Regions from separate parts of the Homo sapiens genome. Here all the other regions are linked to region 1. The links are contacts of gene promoters, found by promoter capture Hi-C in blood cells and fetal thymus (Javierre and others, 2016). All regions are on one chromosome and are shown on one strand. Each heading gives the region's core, a stretch centred on a gene start or on the middle of the fragment in contact. The rest is flanking DNA. Distances are from core to core; before and after follow the strand shown. Region 1 holds the start of PYCR2 (pyrroline-5-carboxylate reductase 2). Region 2 overlaps ENAH (ENAH actin regulator). Region 3 holds the start of ACBD3 (acyl-CoA binding domain containing 3).

What was found. Contacts are between HindIII fragments. The CHiCAGO score rates a contact against its expected background, and 5 or more counts as called.
Region 2: a contact is called between a fragment that was not itself captured here and the fragment with the promoter of PYCR2 in region 1, in 1 of 17 cell types (naive CD8 T cells). The highest score is 6.5, in naive CD8 T cells.
Region 3: the fragment with the promoter of ACBD3 here is called in contact with the fragment with the promoter of PYCR2 in region 1 in 1 of 17 cell types (neutrophils); the score reaches 5.8 in neutrophils.

The regions. Positions count from the first base shown.
Region 1 is chr1:225,922,127-225,926,404 of GRCh38, reverse strand. It overlaps PYCR2 (pyrroline-5-carboxylate reductase 2), which reads left to right and starts at 2,155. Exons shown (of 7, transcript NM_013328.4): 1 at 2,155-2,361; 2 at 2,634-2,704; 3 at 4,022-4,201. The coding sequence starts at 2,295. MIR6741 (microRNA 6741) reads left to right here and starts at 4,263; the gene lies at 4,263-4,278. RefSeq lists silencers at 1,809-1,888, 2,029-2,118, 2,429-2,558 and an enhancer at 1,609-2,258. The HindIII fragment of the contact is 26,114 bases long and covers 1-3,812 here.
Region 2 is chr1:225,618,121-225,622,398 of GRCh38, reverse strand. The region is part of intron 1 of ENAH (ENAH actin regulator); the gene reads left to right. Among named protein-coding and RNA genes, the nearest start is that of ENAH, 33 kb to the left of the region's middle. The HindIII fragment of the contact is 4,631 bases long and covers 74-4,278 here.
Region 3 is chr1:226,184,210-226,188,487 of GRCh38, reverse strand. ACBD3 (acyl-CoA binding domain containing 3) reads left to right here and starts at 1,747. Exons shown (of 8, transcript NM_022735.4): 1 at 1,747-2,098. The coding sequence starts at 1,813. LOC101927247 (a long non-coding RNA gene) reads right to left here and starts at 592. Exons shown (of 2, transcript XR_001738504.2): 1 at 555-592. RefSeq lists silencers at 1,846-2,140, 1,777-2,256. The HindIII fragment of the contact is 12,408 bases long and covers 1-4,278 here.

The DNA.
Region 1 (4,278 bases), core at 906-3,405:
GTGGTGACACATGCCTGTAATCCCAGGTACTCGGAAGGCTGAGACAGGAGAATCGCTTGAACCCGGGAGATGGAGGTTGCAGTGAGCCGAGATCATGCCACTTCACTCCAGCCTGGGTAACAAAGACTCCGTCTCAAAAATAAATAAATAAATAAAAATAAGAAATAATAATAAATTGATGTTTTATGAGGACAGGAACTTGTCTGTTTTGTTCATAGCTATACTCCCAGAACCTGGCTCAGTAAGTTATCTATTATATAAATCAATAAACCTAACATTGACCTTTGAATGGTTAAATCAGTAAGGTACATACATATAATAAGTAGTCATTAAAACTGTCTTAAATAACTTTTCAGTGACATTGGAAAATGCTCATGTCTACTAGAGAAATTTCAAAACTACATGTACATCATTTATTTCCAATGATGGAGAAAGTAGATATGCATAGGACATGATAGTGTAAGGAAATACACCAAAAATGTTTGTAAGAAACTATCTTTGGGAAGTATGATGTGGATGATTTTATTTTTACTTTTATCTCCAAACTTTCTTCAATATGTCTGTATTACTTTTCGAATTTAAAAAATACAGAGGCCAGGTGCTGTGGCTCACGCCTGTAATCCCAGCACTTTGGGAGGCTGAGACAGGCAGATCACCTCAGGTCGGGAGTTCAAGATCAGCCTGACCAACATGGAGAAACCCTGTCTCTACTAAAAATACAAAAAATTAGCCGGGCGTGGTGGCGCATGCCTGTAATCCCAGCTACTCAGGAGGCTGAAGCAGGAGAATCGCTTGAACCCGGGAGGTGGAGGTTGCAGTGAGCCGAGATCGTGCCATTGCACTCCAGCCTGGGCAACAAGAGCGAAACTCTGTCTCAATAAATAAATAAATAAATAAATAAATAAAACATAGCATTATTTTGCTTAATAGTAAATATTATATTTGGTCCTCACTTTAAAGGGTGCACAAACTGAGGGCCTGGGGACTTGCTCAGGGAAGTTCACAGAAAGCAGCCCCTTGCCTGGGAGTGGGGGTGTGCATTACACGGAAAGGACTAGAAAAGCTAGCAGAGAGACCATGGGAACTAAGGGTCCTCAGCTCTTCTGAGTCCTCTAGGAACGCCACCTTCTTCCTCTCTACTTCTGTCATTTGTTCCCTGCGGCCCCTTATATTTACTACTGATAGAAAAGGAAACATCACATTGGTGGAGCTTTTAAAAGCAAGAGACAGGTCGGGCGCGGTGGCTCACGCTTATAATCCCAGCACTTTGGGAGGCCGAGGCGGGCGGATAACCTGATGTCAGGAGTTGAAGACCAGCCTGAACAACATGGTGAAACCCCGTCTCTACTAAAAATACAAAAATTATCCGGTCGTGGTAGCGGGCGCCTGTAATCCCAGCTACTGGGGAGGCTGAGGCAGGAGAATCGCTTGAACCCGGGAGGCGGAGATTGCAGTGAGCCGAGATCGTGCCACTGCACTCCATCCTGGGCAACAAGAGTGAAACTCCGTCTCAAAAAAAAAAAGGCAAGTGACAGCAAGGGGCTGGGGGGTGCGGGATCGCGGAAGAGTCGGAGACTCGAACTTGTCCTTCTTGTATCTAGTTTGGACAAATTCGCGAGAAACACTCAAGTTCAAGTGAATAAGCCGCGGCTGACCACCCTGGTGCCGCCTCGCCGCCACCTGGTCTGAACCTCGCCGCCACCTGGTCTGAACCTACGCCAGGAGGGCCTCGTTCATCCCCGCAAATCGGCAACCTGGAGAATTCCTGTGGGCCTTGAGGGGCATCTGATGGCCAGCGCCAGAAATAATATTAGCCAGGCCTGGGCCAGGCCTCAGCCCTGAGCCCGAGGTGGCTTAGGGACGGCGACCTCAGCCTTGGGGTGGGGGGGGGGGGTGGGGGCGGCCGGGCGTCCTGGGCCGGCGGGCGCCTGGAGCTCACGCCAAGCTGCCACAGGGGCTTCCGGGACTCCAGCCCGGAGTTCCGCCCTCCAGTCGCGAGCGGAGGAGGCGGGCACGCGGCCTGGCTCGGGCCGCGGATTGGCCTGCCCCGAGATCCTGGCCACTGATTGGTCGCCCGGACGGGGCGGGGCCACGTGGCCTAAGGCGCCATCAGCCGCCCGGGAGATATCCGCCGGGGGAGAATAGGGTTGCACCATCCCAGAAGCTGCTGTTAGCTCGCCGGTCCTCGGCACGCCGCCCGTTCGCCCCTGCGCTGTCCGCCCTTCCCCTAGCGTTACTTCCGGTCCCTCGCTGAGGGGGTTCGTGCGGCTCCCAGGAGGCGTGAACCGCGGACCATGAGCGTGGGCTTCATCGGGGCCGGCCAGCTGGCCTATGCTCTGGCGCGGGGCTTCACGGCCGCAGGCAAGCGCGTGGAGGCGGGAGGCGGCTTCGCGGGCGGTCCCGAGGCCCGAGGGGGCCTCCGTCCCACCAGCATGAGCGAATGAAAGGGGAGTTTGCGTCCGGTGGGGTAGATGAGACTCTGGTTGAGCAGCAAGTGCGTCTTCTGTCCTCGTAGAGGGTTGAGGGGGAGAGGGAGACTGGCACTGTTAGGACGGCTCTGGGTTTTAGAGCCAGGGAAAGCGTGGTAACGGGCTGGGCCGCGACCCCTAGTTGAAAAGCTCTGTCTTCTGCAGGCATCCTGTCGGCTCACAAGATAATAGCCAGCTCCCCAGAAATGAACCTGCCCACGGTGTCCGCGCTCAGGGTAGGTGGAGCCGGGCGGAGTGGGAAGCGGGTGGAGGCCCAGGAAAAGGATGACCTGAGATGAAGTGAGTCTGGCCGGCCCCTGCGCCCAAGTGCTGGTCTTTGGCCGGCGGTGACCTTTACTCCAGGAACGTGACAATCTTTCCACCTTCTCTTGGGCAGCTCAATGTGGTGGGAACACCCAGGGAGACATAACTGGGGGTCAGATCCAGACACTGGAGTGGTAGAGGATTAACTGAGGTGATTATGTGATGAAAGCACCTGGCACATAGTAGGTACCTAATAAATACTCATTTTTTAAATTTTTTTTCAGACAGGGTCTTACTCTGTCGCCCAAGCTGGAGTGCAGTGGCGCGATCTCAGCTCACTGTAACCTCCGCCTCCCACCTCAGCCTCCCACCTCAGCCTCCCGAGTAGCTGGAATTACAGGCATCCACCACGCGCAGCTAATTTTTGTATTTTTGGTAGAGAATACTGTTGGCCAGGCTGGTCTCGAACTCCTGGCCTCAAGTGATCTGCCCGCCTTGGCCTCCCAAAGTGCTGGGATTACAGGGGTGAGCCACTGCGCTCAGCCATTTTTCTTAATAGACGAGTTGTATGACCTTAAAGTACTCAGCCACTTTGAGGCTATTTCCTCATTTACAACAGTGGCCACTTTGCTGTTATTCTGAGTCGTGAATGAGCATATTGGGAAGAATCTGGTGAGTTAGTTGTTCTGTTCTCCAAAAACATATTCCAAGTCTTCACCCAAAACCTGTGCTCTGTGGGAGAGGATGGCTGATGAGGCAGGTGACAGGCAGTGTCTGTGCCTAGGGTGGGCTGATGTCCCTAGCACTGGAGGGTCCTGCTTCTCAGTTTGGAGTCATAGAGGGATGGATGGCTTCCAGCCTAGCCCTGGACCACATGGAGACTGTGCGGTCCCCACGAACAAGCGGCCAGGGTTAGGATAGGGCCTGACTCAGCTGTGCTTTTAACGACCAGGTATTAGCATTTCCCTTTGCCCTGCCACTTTCACCATAGGGCCTTCTTACCTGGCAGAGGAGTGCCTTAGATACCAGAAGATTGGCAGGGAAGAAGGGCAGCCACTTCCTGGTTACCATGGAGAAGCTTGTCATGCTCCAAGCCTGTGCTTACTTGTCCAGTAGCAACAATGGGAAACTGTATTATTTGGGGTAGGGGTAGAACCCTGAGGGCATAAAGCTAAGAATTCCAGGCTGCATCTGGCAGAATCGGTTTGGCAGGGGTTCAGCTGCTCCCTGGGAGGCCTTGGCATAGCCAGGCTGCTCCAGCACTGTGAGCTGGGAGTCTCCTCTTGCAGAAGATGGGTGTGAACCTGACACGCAGCAACAAGGAGACGGTGAAGCACAGCGACGTCCTGTTTCTGGCTGTGAAGCCACATATCATCCCCTTCATCCTGGATGAGATTGGGGCCGACGTGCAAGCCAGACACATCGTGGTCTCCTGTGCGGCTGGTGTCACCATCAGCTCTGTGGAGAAGGTGCCCATCTCAGCCCTGATGCCCCTTGTGTGAGGGGAGGGTTGACCCACGAATGGCAGCTAATGGGTGGGTGCTGG
Region 2 (4,278 bases), core at 1,140-3,639, 300 kb after region 1:
CCAGTCTGGTCTCTAACTCCTGCGCTCAAAGGATCCTCCTGCCTCAGCCTCCCAAAGTGCTGGATTATAAGCTTGAGTCACAGTGCCTGGCCAACACCTTTATTGAGGACATACAATAAATGTCACATATTTAAGGTGTACAATCAAGATAGCAAACATATCCATCACTCCTAATATATAAACATATGAACACAAATTTGAAGGGACATCACCCCATAAGCCTAACACTCAATATGTATAATAACCTTCAGTGTTCTTTTTCAATGAACATAACCATGGACACTTTTCCATGTTGTTACATGGTCTTAATAATAGTATGACTTTTTAAAGAGTTGAGCAATGGCATGTTAAAAACATGTTCTTTACACATCTAAGATGATAGTACATAGATTGTTTCATGTTAGAAGTAGAAACATTTTCAGCTTCTTTTGAAGTGAGAGATACGAAGAGGGAGGCTATGAGAGAATCAAAGAGAGCACAGGGAGTTCTCAGTGGTCTCCCCTCTTCCAAGGCAAATACTTCTGTCTCCAAGGACTGAGTAGAGCTTTGAGAAGGAGGATAGGTATGTCACAGAGAGTAACTAATTTCTGATTAGGTGAAACTGAAGCTGTGTGCTGAGGTAAATGGTAAATTTAGGAGTGACTGCTTGGGATTTATTCAGTTAGAGGTCCATGTAGCAGGTGGGAAATGTTTGTATTTGATGTGTGCGGTTAACAAAAGCCAATGAAGAATTTGGGAGATTGAGTGACTGGGCCATTATGGTGTATATGTAAAATAATCTTAGTGGTTGATTAAGAGATAGATTTAGGCCGGGCGCGGTGGCTCACGCCTGTAATCCCAGCACTTTGGGAGGCCGAGGCGGGCGGATCACGAGGTCAGGAGATCGAGACCATCCCGGCTAAAACGGTGAAACCCCGTCTCTACTAAAAATACAAAAAATTAGCCGGGCGTAGTGGCGGGCGCCTGTAGTCCCAGCTACTTGGGAGGCTGAGGCAGGAGAATGGCGTGAACCCGGGAGGCGGAGCTTGCAGTGAGCCGAGATCCCGCCACTGCACTCCAGCCTGGGCGACAGAGCGAGACTGCGTCTCAAAAAAAAAAAAAAGAGAGATAGATTTAAAGAAGTAATTCCCATGGCCATACTGAGTCAGAAGGGTGATAAGTATAATGAGAATGGTTGGTGTGAAAGGTCACACCAAGGTTCTGGAATTTGGTAATAGGATGATAGCATTGTCACTCTTAAAAAGATGATTAGGCAAGTGGACATGGGTGAAGATTTTCCCAAGGAGATTTGTTTTAATTCGGGACACATTTTATCAAATGATAGTATATCACCATAAGGAAGGAGGCTTTCAAAGACTACAAAGGACTATCTCCACACTTTTTTTTCTTTTTTTTTGATGGAGTCTAGCTCTGTTACCCAGGCTGGAGTGCAGTGGTGAGATGGCGGCTGACTGCAGTCTCTGCCTCCCAGGTTCAAACGATTCTCTTGCCTCAGCCTCCTGAGTAGCTGGGAATACAGGCGCCCGCCACCATGCCCAGCTAATTTTTGTATTTTTAGTAGATACGGGGTTTCACCATGTTGGCTAGGCTGGTCTTGAACTCCTGACCTTGGGTGATCCGCCCACCTTGGCCTCCCAAAGTGCTGGGATTACAGGTGTGAGCCACTGCACCCGGCCCTATCTCCACATTTAAGGAGCTTATGATCTGATTGAAGTGAACATACCTTCAGAAAATAAGATAGATCTGATAGAAAGTAGCAGGCTGAGATTGAGGCTCCAGATTTGGTAATTGTGTGAAAACAAGAATGAATCAAGTATCCCAAGTTGCATGGAAAAGTAGTGGGTTTGTATTAGAGGCCTGGGACATTTTTGAGACAGTTTTGCTCTTATTACCCAGGCTGGAGTGCAGTGGCCGATCTTGGCTCACTGCAACCTCCGCCCCCTGGGTACAAGCGATTTTTCTTTTCTGCCTCAGCTTCCCAAGTAGCTGGGACTACAGGCATGTGGCACCACGCCCAGCTAATTTTTGTATTTTTGGTAGATACGGGGTTTCACCATGTTGGCCAGGCTGGTCTCAATCTCCTGACCTTGTGATCTACCTGCCGCGGCCTCCCAAAGTGCTGGGATTACAGGTGTGAACCACCGCGCGAGGCCTGGTACTTTTCTAGTGACGAAGTGTTGAAACCGCTGGTGGTCACATTGAAAAGCATTCAGAGATACTAGATCACATTACATCTTAATTGCAGATAGTTCCAGCTTTCAAATCAGATTTTTGGTAGGAGCTTAGCACATATCTTTCTGTGGGAACTGTGTTATAATGAGGGCTAGTACGTTCTCAAGTAGTACACACAAGGCCATTTAATGCATCGTATCCTTGAAGTATGTGTTACACTATTAGGCTAAACTGTAAGAAATTACTGTTTTTGGAAGTCACAGATCACCAGATGTTGGCAGTTTCACATGGTTCAATCCGGTACATTTAATTATCACCAGACATTTTTTTTTAGCTTAGTGAATTTTTAAAATTTATTATCATTTATGTACTTTTTATTTCAATACTTTTAGGGTACAAGTAGTTTTTGGTATCACCAGACATTTGATGTCTATAATTTATTTGGGAAGACACTGAGACTGCAGAATTGACCTGATAGCTGTGTTTTAAAAGCATTTCTCTGAGACCATTCAGGGTTTTAAATTGGGATGTCTGAGACTGAAGGCCCTTCTGCCCCAGGGATTCTCCTTAATCCCAAGTTTCTGATGGGTTTTCTCTCTATAGTCATCCTCCTTCCCCTGATCCCCAAAATAAGACTAGGGAGGTGGGAGTATTTTAGGGTGGTGTTTCTCTTTTCTGTTTTTGAGATGGGGTCTTACTCTGTTGCCCAGGCAGGAGTGCAGTGGCAGGATCTCAGCTCACTGCAACCTCTGCCTCTCAGGTTCAAGTGATTCTCCTGCCTCAGCCTCCCGAGTAGCTGGGACTACAGGTGCTTGCCACCATGCCCAGCTAATTTTAGTATTTTTTAGTAGAAACAGGGTTTTACCATGTTGGCCAGGCTGGTCTCAAACTCCTGACCTCAAGTGATCTGCCCGCCTTGGCCTCCCAAAGTGCTGGGATTACAGGCGTGACCCACCGTGATTGGCAAGGGTGGTGTTTTGCTAACTGTAGGTTAGTTTTTCTAACTGTAGGTTTTTAACAGGATTTATCACAAATGAAAGACAATAGAAAATATTCAGGAAACATTGCACATGGTAATGGCAAGTGTTTCATGAAACATTTAGTGTCTGTGCATTTGTGTGTGTGTGTGTGTGTACTGGGTTGTATATGCAGTGTATTTATTTATCACAGGCCTTAAACATTTGAGTAATGCTGATTTGGGAGATGAATTGATGTAGGCTTGGCATCTTGGGGATAGAAGGTAAGCCATTGTAGGGGTCCTCGGACTTCTTTAACCTTTTGCCCTCCTATTGTGGGCCAGAAAGTAGGCCTTCTCTCTCTCCACTGGTGCCATCAAACTCCTCTGAACTCTGGCTCATGTCTTTCCTTTACCTGCATGTAACGCAATGTAATTTAGTATAGAGTAGAATCCTTTGGAATTTTTTTAAAGGTGATTCCTGGTAGTTGCTGGTATAAAGGTGGTTAAAAACAGAAAACCTAAAGCACAGAGATAGTGTTCTCATTTAAGTGTTTTAAGTAGAACATGAAACTTTCTAAGTTGAGTTTTTGTAGAGTGATCACTGAGAATTCATCTATATTTCAGAGGAAAACAAGAAAGACTGGTAGGTAGGCACTTGATAGATTTGTGGAATGGGTGGAGACAGTTCTGAGCACCTGTCTAGGATCAGTGAACTACGTATTAGTGAATATGAAGCAGAAGTTGATAGTAGGAACAGAGAGGTGATTATCTTCCCCTTTTTTTCTGTGCTGTACTATCTTGGAGAGGTGAGGAGAAAAAGGTTCCAAATTGGCCACTAGATGATTGAAAGAAGTCCCTGTGGCCAATTTTGTATCTGGATGACCATTCTTTTTTAAGTGAGATGCGTGAACCTTTCATATAAAGAGCTGCTGGCAGGATATTGTTTTATTAGGTTTTAGGGATATTGGCCCATGGTTCACTTTTTCTTTCTCCCCAGTTTTTGGAAAAGTTGATTGCTAGTAAGGCTGATTGCTTTCAGGGAATTGTCATTTTCCTCCGGGGGATGTTTGGATGAGAATGGAGACCAGTTTGGCAAGGGCAACAGCTGTTGAACAATCTGTTTGGGATTAGGTGCAAGTTGGTATGTA
Region 3 (4,278 bases), core at 498-2,997, 260 kb before region 1:
ATCCCAGCACTTTGGGAGGCCGAGGCGGGCATATCACAAGGTCAGGAGATTGAGACCATCCTGGCTAACACGGTGAAACCTCGTCTCTACTAAAAATACAAAAAAATTAGCCGGGCATGGTGGTGGGCACCTATAGTCCCAGCTACTCAGGAGGCTGAGGCAGGAGAATGGCGTGAACCCTGGAGGCGGAGCTTGCAGTGAGCCAAGATCGCGCCACTGCACTCCAGCGTGGGCGACAGAGAGAGACTCCGTCTCAAAAAAAAGAAAAAAACTCTCTAGGGCTTCAGTAAAAACCACACACAAAATTGTCACTGAAGCAGCCAAACGGCCATAAAAATCTCATAGCACATCCATGAAACTTGAGAGAGGTTTCCCAAACTGAACAATAACCCTAAAAAAGTACGTTAACAATATCAGTAATGAGTTGTGATGCTGAAATAAATTTATAAACAATTATTAAGAAACAAATTTAATCAGCCATGCTGGAGAAAAGACTGATCTTTCTCTTTTCTTTATAGAGAATTACAAAATACGCCGGGCGCGGTGGCTCTCACCTGTAATCCCAGCACTTTGGGGAGGCTGAGGCGGGCAGATCACATGAGGTCAGGAGTTTGAGACCAGCCTGGCCAACATGGGGAAACTCTGACTCTACTAAGTTTACAAAAATTAGCCGGGCGTGGTGGTGAGCACCTGTAATCCCAACTACTTGGGAGGCTGAGGCAGGAGAGTTGCTTGAACCCGGGAGGCAGAGGTTGCAGTGAACCGAATTGCACCACTACACTCCAGCCTGGGTGGCACAGCAGGACTGTCTGCAAAAAACAAAAAAAAAAAAAAAAAAAAAAAGTTACAAAATAATTGTTATAGGAAAAGGCAATCAGAAGTACGCAGCCAAAACAAAGGTGGGAAAAATGATCATAAATGGTGCTCCCAAAGTCTGGAAACACAGGTGAATATACATAATGTCGGGGGCGACTTCAATCTTTTAGAAAAAAATAGGTTTCTGGGCTCTCAGACGCCCTGTAGAAGAATATCAGGCAGTCAATGAAAATATTACGGTTATGTGTGTGATGTTTGTGGGTTTTATTAACTTTTAAAATATCATTTGTTTTTTCTTTCTCTTTCTAAATATACATTCACTTTCCTACCCTTCTGCGCGTAACTTTTTGTACTCTTTCCTAATGAGGGTCCCCACAAATTGTATGAGCTGCGCTTCCTGCAAAACCAGGATCAGCCCCGTCTGCAACCTCAAAGTCACTGAATTTCTCTGCAGTCTCAGTTTCCCCTTTTAAAAAAATTGGGAATTTGCCCTGCATTTCCTTAGAGTTGCTGTGAAGGCCAAACGAGATGGTGGTGGGCAAAAGAGCTCTGCCAACCACGCAGGCCCCTGCAAATGTGAAGGGCCTCTGACCTGGAGGGTTGGGTGCTGGCCGACCTCGTCAATCCTCCCTACTCCGACCCCCGCGCGGGGCTCCACTGACCCCGCCCCTGCTGGGCACTGACAGCCGCAGCACCGAACCGAGCGGTGGGGGTGGTAGCACCCGCCCACCTGGAGCAACTGGGATCCGAAAGGATGGGGTGCGGGGGAGGGGAGTTCGGGACCAACGGGAGTTGGGGAGCCTGAAGGGTGGTCGCTGAGCCAGGGCAACTGACGATTCCGGAGGGGGTGGGGCGCCAGGCCTCAGCCCCTCTCCCGGAGCCCTCCAGCCTCCTCAGCAGCGGAAGTTCCGGTGTCGGTAAGCGGAGGTCAGAGGTCAGCAGGAAGTCGATACGTGGCTGCCGTCTGTCCCCGCTGAGGAGGTGCAGCAGCCGGAGATGGCGGCGGTGCTGAACGCAGAGCGACTCGAGGTGTCCGTCGACGGCCTCACGCTCAGCCCGGACCCGGAGGAGCGGCCTGGGGCGGAGGGCGCCCCGCTGCTGCCGCCACCGCTGCCACCGCCCTCGCCACCTGGATCCGGTCGCGGCCCGGGCGCCTCAGGGGAGCAGCCCGAGCCCGGGGAGGCGGCGGCTGGGGGCGCGGCGGAGGAGGCGCGGCGGCTGGAGCAGCGCTGGGGTTTCGGCCTGGAGGAGTTGTACGGCCTGGCACTGCGCTTCTTCAAAGGTGAGCCGGGCCAGCCCCACCCCCGCCGCTTCTGCCCGGCCCCGGGAGCCCGGCGTGGGCTGTGGTCCCCAGGGTGACTGGACCAGACTTGCCCTCACCCACTCATACTGGGCTGTGGTGACTCAAGCGGGGTTCCCTCCTTGGGGGTACCCGAAGTTTGTCACTACCCGCTTGGCCACTAGGTCACACCCCTGACGGGCCTGCAACCTTGGTTTAGCAGTCATGTCCCGCCTCCCAGAGGTTACCGGGACATTTTACCTGATTTAGCTTCTGGGATTTCCAGGAGCCCTGGTGGAAGAATGAGCCCACTTTCTTCCAAAGGATCCCATTCTGGGATTGCCTTTTATTATTATTATTTTTTTAACTGACGCTTTTCTTTTCCTATTTCCCATGGCTTGTCACATCAGAACCCGCCGATTTTTACCCTTAGTGGAAGAAATCTGTCAAGAGGTTCCATACATAGCTTTTCCAGCCATTCTTGGGAACCATAAACTGGAACAGGACTTGATCCCCCGGCAGATTGATGTGGCAGAGAGGAGGAAGTAAAGTGTTAAGCTCATCATCCTCTCCGGCTTGTCAAACTCTTGAGGAGAGATGTCCACTATGTTCTAGTAACTTCTAGGTGGTTAAAATTTTACATTGTAAGCAATGTGCAAGAGTGAATTCTCAGAGTAAGGCCTAACAGTACCTTCTGTGCTTTTCGCATAATTAATTGTTAAATGTCTCTTGTCTTAGAGCAAGATTGTAGTGTGCGGTTTTTTTTTTTTTTAATTGGGTGATTCACTTAGTCGAATGGTGGAGAGACCAATCACATGATTTTTGTCAGTGGGAAAAACTGATGAAAGCCCGTTAGTTTGATTCTTAAAGATACTTAGTCTTGTAGGGCGAATGGACAGGGAGGGACATCAGCAAATGCAACTTTAAAAGTGGTTGCTAGGTTCCACGTACATTCCAGAGCAGCATATTTATGACACTTTCCCCAGAGGGAGTACCTTTTGGAGTACATATTTTACTAGCCAAAGTTGAGTAGTTCAATGTAATGATACACACGGAAGTTGTTTTCTCTCAAAATAACTTTAATTGTGCAAACTAGTGAAAGTTTTATAAATTTTCCAGAACATTTGATCATTTCACATTCAATGACATATTCGTGGTCATTGCACAATGAGTTGAGCCCTCTGTGTACTAACTAGCTTGGGGAATTGGTAATGGCTAATGGGTTTTGGATCATTTGACTTTTAGATCACCGGCTTGAATTTAGAGTTTGCTGTAGTGATGATATATTACCACTTGATAAAAATCAGGTGGTTTCTGTACAATTCATATAGCTACATTCCATCTTAAATTTTTATTCTTGGAACTTATTTTTCAGTAAAGTATATTGTAGCAGAGAGTAAGAGTAGAAATGAACTAATTCCTTTTTTTTTTTTTTTTTGAGCTGGAGTCCTGCTCTGTTGCAGGACTGAGGGAGGCTGAGGCAGGAGAATCACTTGAACCCGGGAGGCGGAGGTTGCAGTGAGCCAAGATGGCACCATTGTACTCCAGCCTGGGCGACGAGCAAAACTCCGTCTAAAAAAAAAAAAAGAATCGCTTCAATATGGGAGGCAGAGGTTGCAGTGAGCCGAGATCATGCCACTGCACTCCATCCTGGGCGACAAAGTGAAATTCTGTCTCAAAACAAAGAAAAAGATTAAAACACTGTAACGTGTAGTATACTTAACATTGTTTGGAGAGTCAGGAAGCTCTGGATTCTAGTTACCTTGTAAACTAGACAATTAACTTTTCCAGAATCAGTTTCATATGTATAAAGGGAGCTGGATTCTATAAAATATGATGTCTCAGATTTAAGATTCAGTGGTCTTAACCTAACAGATTATTTTAACATGTGTCTTGAGTGGTAGGAATCCTGGGGAAACTTATAACTTGGGGCCTAGGTGTTAGTCACCTTAGAGAATAAAGCTACACTGATAGGTGTGGTTCACTCACTTCCTAAATGAAGTTCTCAAAGCAATATCCAGGTACTAAAAAGGAGAAATAGCTGTGTAGCAATTAAAAGCTACCTTTCTGCATGTGTCATTGGAGACTGTTAGTATATGAGACACTAACTGACAAAAGGGAAGGATGTAAAAGCAGTCAGAAGAATTATGGAATGTGGAGTGAGCCAAGTAATGCTGCCTTTG